Regions from separate parts of the Homo sapiens genome. Here region 1 is linked to region 2. Evidence: promoter capture Hi-C in 16 types of primary human blood cells and fetal thymus (Javierre and others, 2016). All regions are on one chromosome and are shown on one strand. The core of a region is centred on a gene start or on the middle of the fragment in contact, and the rest is flanking DNA. Distances in the headings are between cores, read along the strand shown. Region 1 overlaps ZFP30 (ZFP30 zinc finger protein). Region 2 holds the start of VN1R1 (vomeronasal 1 receptor 1).

Evidence for each region. Contacts are between HindIII fragments. The CHiCAGO score rates a contact against its expected background, and 5 or more counts as called.
Region 1: a fragment that was not itself captured here is called in contact with the fragment with the promoter of VN1R1 in region 2 in 1 of 17 cell types (total CD4 T cells); the score reaches 5.5 in total CD4 T cells.

What each region holds. Positions count from the first base shown.
Region 1 is chr19:37,629,373-37,636,588 of GRCh38, forward strand. It overlaps ZFP30 (ZFP30 zinc finger protein), which reads right to left. Exons shown (of 6, transcript NM_001320669.3): 6 at 1,634-6,933. The coding sequence ends at 5,609. Among named protein-coding and RNA genes, the nearest start is that of ZFP30, 22 kb to the right of the region's middle. The HindIII fragment of the contact is 7,896 bases long and covers 1-5,362 here.
Region 2 is chr19:57,452,350-57,459,082 of GRCh38, forward strand. It overlaps VN1R1 (vomeronasal 1 receptor 1), which reads right to left and starts at 4,791. Exons shown (of 1, transcript NM_020633.4): 1 at 2,441-4,791. The coding sequence starts at 4,137. The coding sequence ends at 3,076. The HindIII fragment of the contact is 5,648 bases long and covers 1-5,224 here.

The DNA.
Region 1 (7,216 bases), core at 165-2,664, about 20 Mb before region 2:
CACGCCATTCTCCTGCCTCAGCCACCTGAGTAGCGGGGACTACAGGCGCCCGCCACCATGCCCCGCTAATTTTGTTTTTGTATTTTTAGTAGAGACAGGGTTTCACCGTGTTAGCCCGGATGGTCTCGATCTCCTGACATCATGATCCGCCCGCCTCAGCCTCCCAAAGTGCTGGGATTACAGGCGCCCGCCACCACGCCCGGCTAATTTTTTGTATTTTCAGTATTTTTTTTTTTTTTTTTGAGACGGAGTCTCGCTCTGTCGCCCAGGCTGGAGTGCAGTGGCGCAATCTCAGCTCACCGCAAGCTCCACCTCCCGGGTTCACGCCATTCTCCTGCCTCAGCCTCCCCAGCAGCTGGGCCTACAGGCGCCCGCCACCACGCCCAGCTAATTTTTTTGTATTTTTAGTAGAGACGGGTTTTCATCGATCTCCTAACCTCGTGATCCGCCCGCCTCGGCCTCCCAAAGTGCTGGGATTACAGGCGTGAGCCACGGTGCCTGGCCGTATCCTGACTTCTAACTACATTAAAAAGTTCTCAATTTTTGTATTCCATATAATCATATAGTATGTCCTCTTTTGAAGGGGTGGGTTGCCCCTCCACACCTGTGGGTGTTTCTCGTAAGGTGGAACGAGAGACTTAGGAAAGAAAAAGACACAAAGTATAGAGAAAGAAATAAGGGGACCCGGGGAACCAGCGTTCAGCATATGGAGGATCTCGCCAGCCTCTGAGTTCCCTTAGTATTTATTCATCATTCGTGGGTGTTTCTCCGAGAGGGGGATATGTCAGGGTCACAAGACAATTGTGGGGAGAGGGTCAGCAGACAAACACGTGAACAAAGGTCTTTGCATCATAGACAATGTAAAGGATTAAGTGCTGTGCTTTTAGATATGCATACACATAAACATCTCAATGCTTTACAAAGCAGTATTGCTGCCCGCAGGTCCTACCTCCAGCCCTAAGGCGGTTTTTCCCTATCTCAGTAGATGGAACGTACAATCGGGTTTTATACCAAGACATTCCATTGCCCAGGGACGGGCAGGAGACAGATGCCTTCCTCTTGTCTCAACTGCAAGAGGCATTCCTTCCTCTTTTACTAATCCTCCTCAGCACAGACCCTTTACGGGTGTCGGGCTGGGGGACGGTCAGGTCTTTCCCTTCCCACGAGGCCATATTTCAGACTATCACATGGGGAGAAACCTTGGACAATACCTGGCTTTCCTAGGCAGAGGTCCCTGCGGCCTTCCGCAGTGTTTGTGTCCCTGGGTACTTGAGATTAGGGAGTGGTGATGACTCTCAAGGAGCATGCTGCCTTCAAGCAGCTGTTTAACAAAGCACATCTTGCACCGCCCTTAATCCATTTAACTCTGAGTTGACACAGCACATGTTTCAGAGAGCACGGGGTTGGGGGTAAGGTTATAGATTAACAGAATCTCAAGGCAGAAGAATTTTTCTTAGTACAGAACAAAATGGAGTCTCCTATGTCTACTTCTTTCTACACAGACACAGTAACAATCTGATCTCTCTTGCTTTTCCCCACACTCTTTTATGTCTGGCTTCTTTTGCCCAGCATTATGCTTTTGAGATTTATCTGTATTGTACACAGTCATAGGTTGTTCATTTTCATTGCAGTATAGTGTTGATTCAGAAATTTTATTTCTGCAGAAAAGCAACAGTTCAATATTCAGAAAGAACAGGTGACTTTAGAACATGATGCCACATCCAGGGAAACATACCTCACATCCACCTTCCAACACAACTAACCACCTGACATGAGGTCCGAACTTTCCACCTTTGCTGTCACCTGTTTTGGTTACAGCACTTATCTGTTAAAATGGGTTCATATCCCATACTCACAAGCATTAAGAGTGAAAGTTACAGGGTAAAAGGTGCTTCAGATACATTAAGTTAAATAAAATCAATTAAACTCTCATTACTTCATTATTTGGAGAAGCTATAGTTTTATTTTCTTAATTATTAATTTTAATATGCTCATTTAACCACAGAATGCTTTCTAAAAATACCATCAAGCACTAGTGTTTCCTGGGAAATGGTTTCAAATGCTATCAAGTTTCATATTCCATTTGAGAAATGGAATATAATGATGTAATACACTGAACATCATGGCTTCCCAATTATAACAGCAAATACAGTTCATAATGGATGACCACGGTGAAATCACCGAAGTCCAACTGATGCAATCATTTATAAGAACTCTGTCTTTATTAATTTTGAGAAGGTAATTTTAAGGTGTTGGGTTACACTTTTACATACATAAAATTCATTCCATTCTTAATACATAGAAAGCTAAAAAAAAAAAAAAAAAAAAGACAATAAGCATGAATTGAGATGATACTGGGCCAGAATCGTATCTCTTTTACTATCATTATGATGTTCTGAAGGTAGAATGCCTAGAATCTAAATATATAATTAAAGCTGGATGGATCTGGTCCAAGTTATTCCACATAAATGATTTTCTATTCTAAACTGTTGGATATAATTTCCCATAGAAATTAGAATTACCAGATTTCTCTTCATACGGAAAATGTCTAGATTTTCGTTTTGCCAGCCCTCCTCACCTAGTTCTTATAATCAGTTTTAGGTTAGTCTTGTAGAATAGTATGTTGGAAAAATTTAGCAATTACCAATTCTTCAAAGATTTTACTTGTAAAAAATTAGGTTCTCGGAGTCTCTCTGAGACCACTCTGGCTCAGGAGAGTAGGATTTTTTTTTTTTAAAGTTAGATTCTAAATGTATTCTTTTAGAAAGCGTATCTTCTAACCGTCTTAATTTTTCATTTGTTTGTTGGTCTACTCAGGCTCTCTTCATTCAGCATGTGAAGTCAATTTTAGTAATTTTTACCATAAAATAATTCTGGATTTTCAATATTTTAAAATACATGTATAGTGTGTGTATAAATATAAATATATATACCTACACACTATACACACACACATTACATATATGTAGTATAGCAACTTATAACTTTAAAAATCCATAGCTGTCACTTTTATCATTCATATAGCTGTAGCTGTGTAATCTTTCATATTTCTGTGATCAAAACTGCAAAGGTCTTGACTATATTGGTATCTTTTAAAGAAACACACACAAAAAAACCAAGTCTACTTTTTATTGTTTATGCCAGCGCTGACAATAGAAATACGTGAGCTACATATATAAATTTTCCTATAACAATTTTAAAAACAAAAAAGTGTTATTCATTTTAATGTATTTTATTTGAACCAATATATCTAAAATATTATTTCAATATGTACTCAATATGAAAAATTGAGATACTTAACTTTTTTAAAATAACTAAGTCTTCAGAATCTTGTGTTTTACAAAAAAACACCATTTGAATTTGGACTAGCCACATTTCAGTGCTCAATAACTCAATTTCAAGTGCTCAACAGGTTGCTAGTGACTACCATATATTAGTACAGGTCTAGTCCATTATTTCCCACATTTAGCAGTAGTAATTGCTTTCTTTTACTCATTCTTTAAACATATGAAGTGAGAGTCGGGCATGGTGGCTCACGCCTGTAATCCCAGCACCTTGGGAGGCCAAGGCAGGTGGATCACCTGAGGTCAGGAGTTGAGACCAGCTTGGCCAACATGGTGAAACCCCATCTCTACTAAAAATACAAAAATCAACCTGGTGTGGTGGCGGGCGCCTGTAATCCCAGCCACTCGGAAGTCTGAGGGAGGAGAATGGCTTGAACCCGGGAGGCAGAGCTTGCAGTGAGCCGAGACTGTGCCACTGCACGCCAGCCTGGGCGAAAGAGCGAGACTCCGTCTCAAAAAAAAAAAAAAAAAAGGTGCATACCATGGGTACTATAATATAGAGATAGAGAGGTCAACTAAATAAAATGTGGACCTACATTTTAACTTCCTGAATACATTATCGTCATTATAGTGTAATTAATATTCCAATCCCAATGTGTAGAGCTTTGGCAACATCCACAAGTTTTAATATGTAGAAATTTTCTTTTTTTCTTTGAGATAGAGTTTTGCTCTTGTTGCCCAGGCTGGAGTGCAATGGCGTGATCTCGGCTCACTGCAACCTCTGCCTCCTGGGTTCAAGTGATTCTCCTGTCTCAGCTGCCCGAGTAGCTGGGATTACAGGCGCATGTGACCACGCCTGGCTAATTTTTGTATTTTTAGTGGAGATGAGGTTTCACCATGATGGTCAGGCTGGTCTCGAACTCCTGACCTCATGATCTGCCCACCGGCCTCCCAAAGTGCTGGGATTACAGGCATGAGCCACCGGGCCCAGCCAGAAATTTTTTTTAAAATAATTCATTTTAAACTGGCTATAATTTCATGGATAATTTGATCTTTAAAAGAACATCATGGAAAATTTTAAATACACAAAAGTAGAATAGCAAAAACAAAACAAATAAAAACCATGTATCCAAGACTTAGGTTACCATCATTTTGCCAAACTTGTTATTCATCCTCATTTTTCTTTTGTATGAACAAAAGGACATTCCAGATATATCATCTCCTGTGTATAGACTTCAGAAATTATCTCTAACAAATACACTTTTACATAACCACAATGCTATTATCACACATAACAAAGTTTCTTAATATTATCTAATATTGTCAATATTCCATTCTCCCAATTATTGTTAAGTATCTCTTCTTTTACATGTTTGTTCAACTCATGATCTAAGTAAAAACCACTGTTTCATTGCATTTGACTGATGTCTCAAGTCTGTCAATACCTAGGAGTTCCACCTTATTTCTTAAAATGCCATTTTATTGGTTGGGAAACCAGGTGATTCCTCTTGTAGAATTACCCTTATTTTAGATTTAATTGCTCCTTTTTGTGTCATGTAATTTACTCTTCCATTCCTTGAATTTTCTCTAAACTGGGAGTTGGCTCTTGAGGCTTAAATTCAGGTTCAATATTTTTGGCAAGATGTGTATATCTTACTGTAGCACATTAGGAGGCACGTAATTTTTACTCTCTTGCTTTTTGTGAAGTTGAGATGATGAGTGGGTTCAGACGTTGTCAGTCTCATCTATTCACTATAAAGTTCACAACCTTCACTGAATGGTGTCAACCTGTACAGAGAATCATGCCTAGATCCATTATTTCATTATGTGTTACACAATAGTTTTTCTAATATAATTTTCTATTATTCTTTCTGCATTCATTAGCCTGGAATTTTCTAATAAAGAAGAACTTTACCTCCTTAACTTCTGGTTGCCCTGAAATACAGTTCCTACAGGAAATGCAGACTAAATGACTTTCCTTTCATTTACACATTTTCAGAATGAAGTGGTTCCCTAGCAACCTTCGTGTGTATATACACAGATGGAAGAATATGGAGATAATAATAGGTAAGATCAAAAGCTTTTCCACATTCAGTCCTGTAATAAAGTTCTTTTCTAGGATGAATTTCCTAAAGTTTAACATGGTTTCAAAGGTGATGAAAGGCTTCTATATGTTCATTAACATATTCTTTCCTTTAAATAAAACTTCCTATGCTTAGTTGTGAGCATGAAGCAAAAGGGATTCCCACGTTCAAAAACCTTTCCTCTAGAATGTACTTCCTATGCTCAACATAAAATTCGCAAAGGAAGAGTTCTAATAATTATTAAGTTACATTATGAATTCGCTGATGGTAAGTAAGATGTGAATGTTGTCTAAATGCCTTTTTACATTCCTTACATTTGTATGGTTTCTCACCAGAATGAATTCTCTGATGTTGAATCAGTGATGAATGAAGTCTAAAGGCCTTTCCACATTCCTTACAGTCATAGGGCTTTTCACCAGTATGAATACTTTGATGTTGGGTAAGTTGTGAAAGCAGTCTAAAAGTCTTCTCACATTCCTTACACTTAAAGGGTTTCTCACCAAAATGAATACTCTGATGTTGAGTAAGCTGTGAGAACAGCCTAAATGCCTTCCCACATTCCTTACATTCATAAGGTTTCTCTCCAATGTGAATACCCTGATGTGAAATAAGTTCTGAGTAACGACGAAAGAACTTCTGACATTCCTTACATTCATAGGGCTTTTCACCAGTATGTATTCTCTGATGGAGAGTTAGATGATAGCCACGACTGAAAGTCTTCCCACATTCCTTACAATCATAAGGCTTCTCACCAGTGTGAATTCTCTGATGGAGAGTAAGTTGCTGCCGCACTCTAAAGGCCTTTCCACACTCCTTACATTCATAGGGTTTTTCTCCAGTATGAAGTTTGTGATGTAGTCGAAGGCCTGTACTACACAGAAAGGCCTGACCACATTCCTTACACTCATAGCACTTCTCAGCAATGTTCAGTCTCTGATGTCGAGTAAGGTGTGCATACTGCCTAAAGGCCTTCCCACATTCTTTACATTCATAGGGTTTCTCACCCGTGTGAATCCTTTGATGGAGATTAAGTTGTCCTCTAACTCTAAAGGCTTTCCCACATTCTTTACATTCATACGGCTTCTCACCAATATGAATTCTCTGATGTACTCGAAGGTCTGAGCCACATGTGAAGATCTTTCCACATTTTTTACATTCATAGAGTTTGTCAGAAGTATGAATTCTCTGATGTCGACTGAGGTGGGCACACTGTCTAAAGGCTTTTCCACATTCTTTACATTCATAGGGTTTCTCACCAGTATGAATTCTTTGATGGAAAGTAAGTTGTTGTCGTACTCTAAAAGCCTTCCCACATTCCCCACATTCGTAGGGTTTCTCTCTGTTATGACTTTTCTGATACAGAGGAAGAGATGTGAGTTTTCTGTAAGTAGGCATTTTTTCAGAGGTGGTTTTTGTCACTTGCCTGAAACACACCTCATGAGGACTTTCTTGTTCTTCAAGTCCACAGCTTTTAATTCTTTCCATTACCTTCCACTGAGATAAGTTCATTTCATAAATATCCTTTCCTTGAAATAACTTTTTAGTGTCATATCTGGATTCCAAATCTGAAAGAAAACAAGACCAAAACATATTTTCCTGTTCTACACAAAATAAACAAACGAAAACTTTATAATAGAAATCGGTGACCAAAAAAAAAAAAAAAGAAAAAGAAAGCCCAATTGAAGTAAATGGGCTCAAAATCTCTAAAATAGGTAATTTAAAAGAAGCTAAAAGGAAATAAGAAAATGATGAGTTAAGACCAGGTTATTTGGGTGCAGATCAAAGTTTGAGACTCCCCACTTAAATTTTTCAATTTCTCTTTTCAGTTAGAATACAGAGCAAATACTT
Region 2 (6,733 bases), core at 3,541-6,040:
TTAACCCGAGAGTGACGTTTTTATAAAATCAGCTGTCTCTGTCTTTCATGCTCACTTGCCCTTCTGTCATATTATGACAGAGTAACAAGGCCCTCACCAGATGCCAAGCAGATACCAGTGCCATACCCTTGGACTTCCCAGCCTCCAGAACTGTATGAAACAAACTACTTTATAAATTACGCAATCTGTGGTGTTTTGCTATAGTAGTGGAAGACAGACACAGACATAAAGCCTGTTAATTCAAACCACTACTGCACAGGTAGGAGCCTCATGACTGAATGAAGGGAGATTCTATACTTCTGAGATAAGTCTTTTTTTTTTTTAAACCTAAACATAATTCCTGGTGACTCAGGTGGACATAACCTTCCTTGTCTCCAGTTCTTCTTCCCCGAGATTCTGAATTTCCAACAACATTGCTTCCAGTTTTTGATACTATAAAATCAGAGTTGACCCACGTAAGACATGAGGAGAGGCTAATGATGGAATCAACACAGCTTTGCCAGAGGTTATAAAAGAGGATTGAGAAATCCAGATTTTATTTGGAATTTTTCTTTTCTAACAGCTTTATTGAGGTATTAGTGACATTCAGTTGCACATTGTTAAAGTGTAAAATATATAAAAACAATCACCAAAGTCATGATAATAAACATATCCATTGCCTCAATAGTTTGTTTGTACCCTTTTCTATTCTCTCTCGCTCACAGTCCTACCCAAATTTTTATGCTCAGGTAGCCACTGGTTTACTTTATGTCACTATATACATCTTTCCTTCCTTCCTTCCTCCCTCCCTCCTGCTCTTTTCTTTTTCCTTTTTTCTTTTCTTTTTTCTTTGTTTCTTTCCCTCCCTCCTTCTCTTCTCCTCTCCTCTCCTCCTCTCCTCCTCCTCTCCTCTCCTCTCTTCTCTTCTTTCTCTTTCTCAGAATTTCACTCTTGTTGCCCAGGCTGGAGTGCAATGGCACGATCTCAGCTCACCGCAACCTCCACCTTCTGGGTTCAAGCGATTCTCCTGCCTCAGCCTCCTGAGTAGCTAGGATTACAGGCATGCGCCACCACGCCTGGCTAATTTTGTATTTTTAGTAGAGACGGGGGTTTCTCCATGTTGGCCAGGCTGGTCTCGAACGCCTGACCTCAAGTGATCCACCTGCCTTGGCCTCCCAAAGTGTTGGGATTACAGGCGTGAGCCACCATGCCCGGCCTATAAATTTTCTAGTATCTTATACAAATGAAATCCTACATTACATTCATATGGAGCATTTTTTGATATTTATACATGTTAAGCGTATTCATTTTTTGTTGATGAAGAGTATTGCATTGAATATACCACAATTTATTAATCTATTAATAAATATTTTGATTGTTTCTAGTGTTGGACTAAAAAACTAACAAAGACCCATGAACATTCATATACAAGTGTTTATATGAATATATTTAGCAGAATTGCATTTGTTATACCTCCTTGTCCATGATGGTTATGGTGTATTTTAAAGATTAACCATTTTCATAGATGTGTTGTGGTCAGTGTGGTTTTTAAATTTGCATTTCTCTAATAATTAATGATGCTGAATAAGTTTTTATATGCTTATTTGTTATCTGTATATTTGGCCAAATTTCTAAATCTTTTCCCTTTTTTTAAAAAAAAATCTTATTTTTCTATTTTAATAGAGTTTTAATTTTAGAACATTTTAAGATGTACAGAGAAATTGCAAATATAGTACAGAGATATCTCATTTACAAGCACACCTAGTTGTTACTAATATATAGTCATATATTAGTATACAGCATTATTTACAATTAGTGAAACAGTTTTGATACATTATTAAACTAAAGTACATCTTTGATTGAGATTTCCTCAGTTTTTACCAAAATACATGTTCTGTTCCAGAATTCCACCTAGGATACCACATTGCATTTATTTTATTATTTTTTATTCTTTTATTTATTTTTTTTCATGTGTCTCTAAATGTAACCACATTACAGTTAGTACTCACATTTCTTTAGGCTTGTCTTGCTTATGAGAATACTCATTTATTTTGATATTGATTTTTAATTTTTTTTTTTTTAGATAGTCTTGCTCTATTGTCCAGGCTGGAGTGCAGAAGCACTTTCTTTCTTTCTTTTTTTTTTTTTTTTTTGAGACGGCGTCTTGCCCTGTCTCCCAGGCTGGAGTGCAGTGGTGGGATCTCGACTCACTGCAACCTCTGCCTACTGGGTTCAAGGATTCTCCTGCCTCAGTCTCCTGAGTAGCTGGGATTACAGGCACCTGCCACCATGTCTGGCTAATTTTTGTATTTTTAATAGAGATGGGGTTTCACCATGTTGGCCAGGCTGGTCTTGAACTCCTGACTTCAAGTGATCTGCCCACCTCAGCCTCTCAAAGTGCTGGGGTTACCGGCGTGACCCACGGTGCCCAGCCACTTTTAGTTATTTTTATTTTTATTTTGAGTCTCCCTCCGTCACCCAAGCTGGTAAGTAATTCTCGTGCTTCACCCTCTGGAGTAGCTGGGACTACAGGTGTGTGCCACATGGTTGGCTAATTTTTGTATTTGAGACAGGGTTTTTGCCATGTTGGCCAGGCTGGTCTCGAACTCCTGGCCTCAAGTCATCTTGAGTGGATCACTTGAGGCATTTGGGAGTGCCTCAGCCTCCCAAAACGGTGGGATTACAGGCGTGAGCCACTGTGCCCGGCCTGCACATGTCTTTCTTACATGTGGACTCTCCAGGGGATTTATGCTGTTCAAGAAGCACCTGAATCAAACTGTGCTTTAAAAATATTTTTAAAACATTCCATGATTCTTCATAGTACAAAAATGAGAAATCTCCCCTAAATCTCTAAAGAATTCCCTTTTTAAACTTTTTGATTTCCTGAACTTGTCTGAAGGACTTAACACAGTTATATAGAGTGTTCTTTGTGTAACAGTATCCATGACTTTCATTTTTAGCTCTGGTATTAGATCTTCCTGGACAAGAGCATTACTGGCCATGTGTATGTTGCTATCACAAATAACTAGTAGTTAATATTTCCTAAATCTTAGCAAGAGTTATGATAAATAGCTGAATTCCATGAAGAGAAAAGACTCATGGCATGACAACCAGATTAGGAAAGAGTGTTTTCCTTGTCCTGCAGGCAAAACAGAACTGAGAGATATGAGTATCACTCATGATGAGGACAAAAGGGCTGCGTGCTGGGAAACATGAGGCGACCAACACAGAGTTGGTCACTATCCACTGGCCTGGGTTTGCAACTACAGTTGTCCAAATTGTCAGAAAACTATGGACTGAATAGAAAACAAAAAAGGAGCTCACCAGGACCATGATGGTGTGTGTGGCTCTGGCTTCCTGGGAAGGTCTGCAGGAGAGTCTGTTGCTGTGATTGTGTTGGACTTGCTGCTTGTGTCTGTAGAGGAAGAAGACCATGGAGCCACTGGCCCAGACCATGAAGCCCAAACTCATAAAATCAGGGGAAAAATATAAGACTGCATGTAATGAGCTAAATCTCTTTGATGCTTTGTAAGAACAGTATCCATAATTGTTTTTTGCACTACTGTTTTTGCTATTCAGTGGGCCATTCACTAATAGAAGAACAGATGCATTCATCAAGACATGGGGGGCCCAGCAGAGGAGACAACAGAAGTCAATAAACCTTGGGGATCTAATCTTGATCTCCATCCACCTGCATATACTGGGGTTGAGCTTAATGGCTTGGAATCCATTGAGAAGGCAGATGGTGCTGAGGGAAACTCTTGTGCCCACCCTGTGATAATAAAAGACAAACTTACATCCAGTGTCATTCAGCAAATATTTCAATCCAAAAGCTGCCATTGTCTGAGGTATCCCTTTAAAGAAAAGGACCATGGAGTTAGCCAAGGCCAGTTGGCTGAGAATCAAGTCCGTGGGTCTCAGCTTGTGTCCAGTGAACAAAATTAAGTTATAAAAACAAAGGAGAAAGGAATTTCCCAGGATCCCAACTCCAGTCTGAATGAGGAAGCTAATCCCTGATTTTACTTTTCCAAAAGCCATTTCATCAAAATCTAGGGGATGTTGATTTTCATTGAGGTCTGAAGAATCAGTAGAATAAAAAAGCAGAAAGAAGTATCTTGTCATCAGTGGAGACAGAAGTTTTAATGTGTCTCCAACCATATTTTCTCATCTTAAACAGAAATTAAGATTGTCCCTGTTCGTGCAAAGGCAATTGCTTGTGTGTCCAACTGCAGAGAAGCAGGTGAATGAATGAGGGCTCAACCGCACAACAGATCCACAAATCAAACCTATAAAACTCAGGGCTTACACACATGCAACAAGTAAATACAAGCAAAACTAGGGAAATATATAAAAACAGAACACAGAAGAGTCAATATCATTAGAGTGATATTATACTATAGTTTGCAAAATGTAATCATGACGGAACCCTGGGTAATATGGACAGGGCTTTTTCTGTATTATTTCTTATGACTGCTTGTGAGTCTACACTTATTTCAATAAAACCTTCAATTAAGTAGCCTGGAGATATGAAAAGCAAAAATAATACACCATAAAACCTTTTCCACACTAATATTTTAGTAAACACCATTGTTATTGATGCATTGAAACAAATTTTAGGCCGGGTGCAGTGGCTCACACCTGTAATTCCAGCACTTCGGGAGGCCAAGATGGAGACCATCCTGGCCAACATGGTGAAACCCTGTCTCTACTAATAATACAAAATACTAATAATACAAAAATTAGCCGGGCATGGCGGCGCGTGCTAGTCCCAGCTACTCGGGAGGCTGAGGCAGGAGAATCGCTTGAACCTGGGAGGCAGAGGTTGCAGTGAGCTGAAATCAAACCATTGCCCTCCAGCCTGGGCGACAGAGCGAGACTCTGTCTCAAAAAAAAAAAAAAAAGAAATTAAAAAAACGCTACAATACAATTGGTAACAAGGCCTTCAGCACAGTACAAATGCTAACTTGAAGAATTTTTAAAAACTATAATTTTTGGAACAATCAACATTGCATCATGGTATATTTTATTTTAAGCACATATATTTCTGTTATTTTCCACCGGACAGGTCTAGAGATTGTGAATTGACTCCGTAGAAATAACCATGACCACCTTGAGCCCACACATTTTTATCTCAATGCCATTTCTCACAAGTAAATGCAAAAGATCCTGAAAATAAATACTAATCCCAGAAACACCTAAGATATCCTTAAAACTTGTTAAATAGGAAATTCAATATGTTCCAGAAAGCTTGGGTTTATTTTTAGGGAAAGATAATTCAATTGGGAGGGAATTTCATTGCACAATATTCATATATATCAATCACAAAAGAAATAGTAACTGCGGCCAGGCACGGTGGCTCACGCTTGTAATCTCAGCACTTTGGGAGGCTGAGGCGGGTGGATTACAAGGTCAGGAGATGGAGACCATCCTGGCCAACATGGTGAAACCCCGTCTCTACTAAAAATACAAAAATTAGCTGGGTGTTGTGGTGCGTGCCTGTAGTCCCAGCTACTCGGGAGGCTGAAGCCTCCTGGGTTCACGCCATTCTCCTGCCTCAGCCTCCTGAGTAGCTGGGACTACAGGCGCCCACCACCACGCCCGGCTAGTGTGTGTGTGTGTGTGTGTGTGTGTGTGTGTGTGTTTAGTAGAGACGGGGTTGCACCGTGTTAGCCAGGATGGTCTCGATCTCCTGACCTCGTGATCCGCCCGCCTCGGCCTCCCAAAGTGCTGGGATTACAGGGATGAGCCACCTCGCCCGGCCATAATTTAGATTCTTTTGGTGTCTCTATGGAATTGCTATCATCAGGGAAAATTATGAGGTATTTTCTCCCATGAATAACTACATCTCTTTAGGGGTGGAGCAATCAATAACACAGCAGTATCAAGATTCTCAGGCGAGAGGTGGCTCACGCCTGTAATCCCAGCAGTTTGGGAGGCCGAGGCTGGTGGATCAGCTGAGGTCGGGAGTTCGAGACCAGCCTGACCAACAGGGAGAAACCCCGTCTCTACTAAAAATACAAAAATTAGTCAGAGGTGGTGGCGCATGCCTGTAATCCCAGCTACTCGGGAGGCTGAGGCAGGAGAATCGTTTGAACCCCAGAGGCGGAGGTTGCAGTGAGCCGAGATCATGCCATTGCACTCCAGCCTGAGCAACAAGAGTGAAACTCGGTCTCAAAAAAAAAAAAAAAAAACTCAGGCTCTGAGGTATGAAAACCTTTTAGATTCCCACAAACCACTTGTTGACAAATGTTTTTCCTATTTATATGAACTCATCATTTATTTTCAAGATAGTTCCTGATTCTTTGCTTTAATCTCTTATTTTGCTCCATTGTCCTAGTTGTATAATTTATTTCCAATATGCATTTGGTTTCCTATTTTTTCAGCTTCTCCTTATAAAGTACCATTTTTACTATGACTATTTTGAAAGCTTCTTGTATGTATAAAGTTAGTGTGATTATTGACTTTAACATACCACCTCCTTCTCCTCCTAGCCTCAGAAAGAAGTGTTGGTAACTGGTGAGAATTTTCAGACAGATTTTCCTTTTTTTTTTTAATTTAATTTAATTTTTTTTTCTTTCTTTGCTTTCTTTTTTTTTTTTTTTTGAGACAGAGTCTCACTCTGTTGCCCAGGCTAGAGTGCAGTGGCGCTATCTCGGCTCACTGCAAACTCCACCTCCCACGTTCAAGCGATTCACCTGCCTCAGCCTCCTGAGTATCTGGGATTACAGGCGCCTGCCACTGCGCCTGGCTAAAT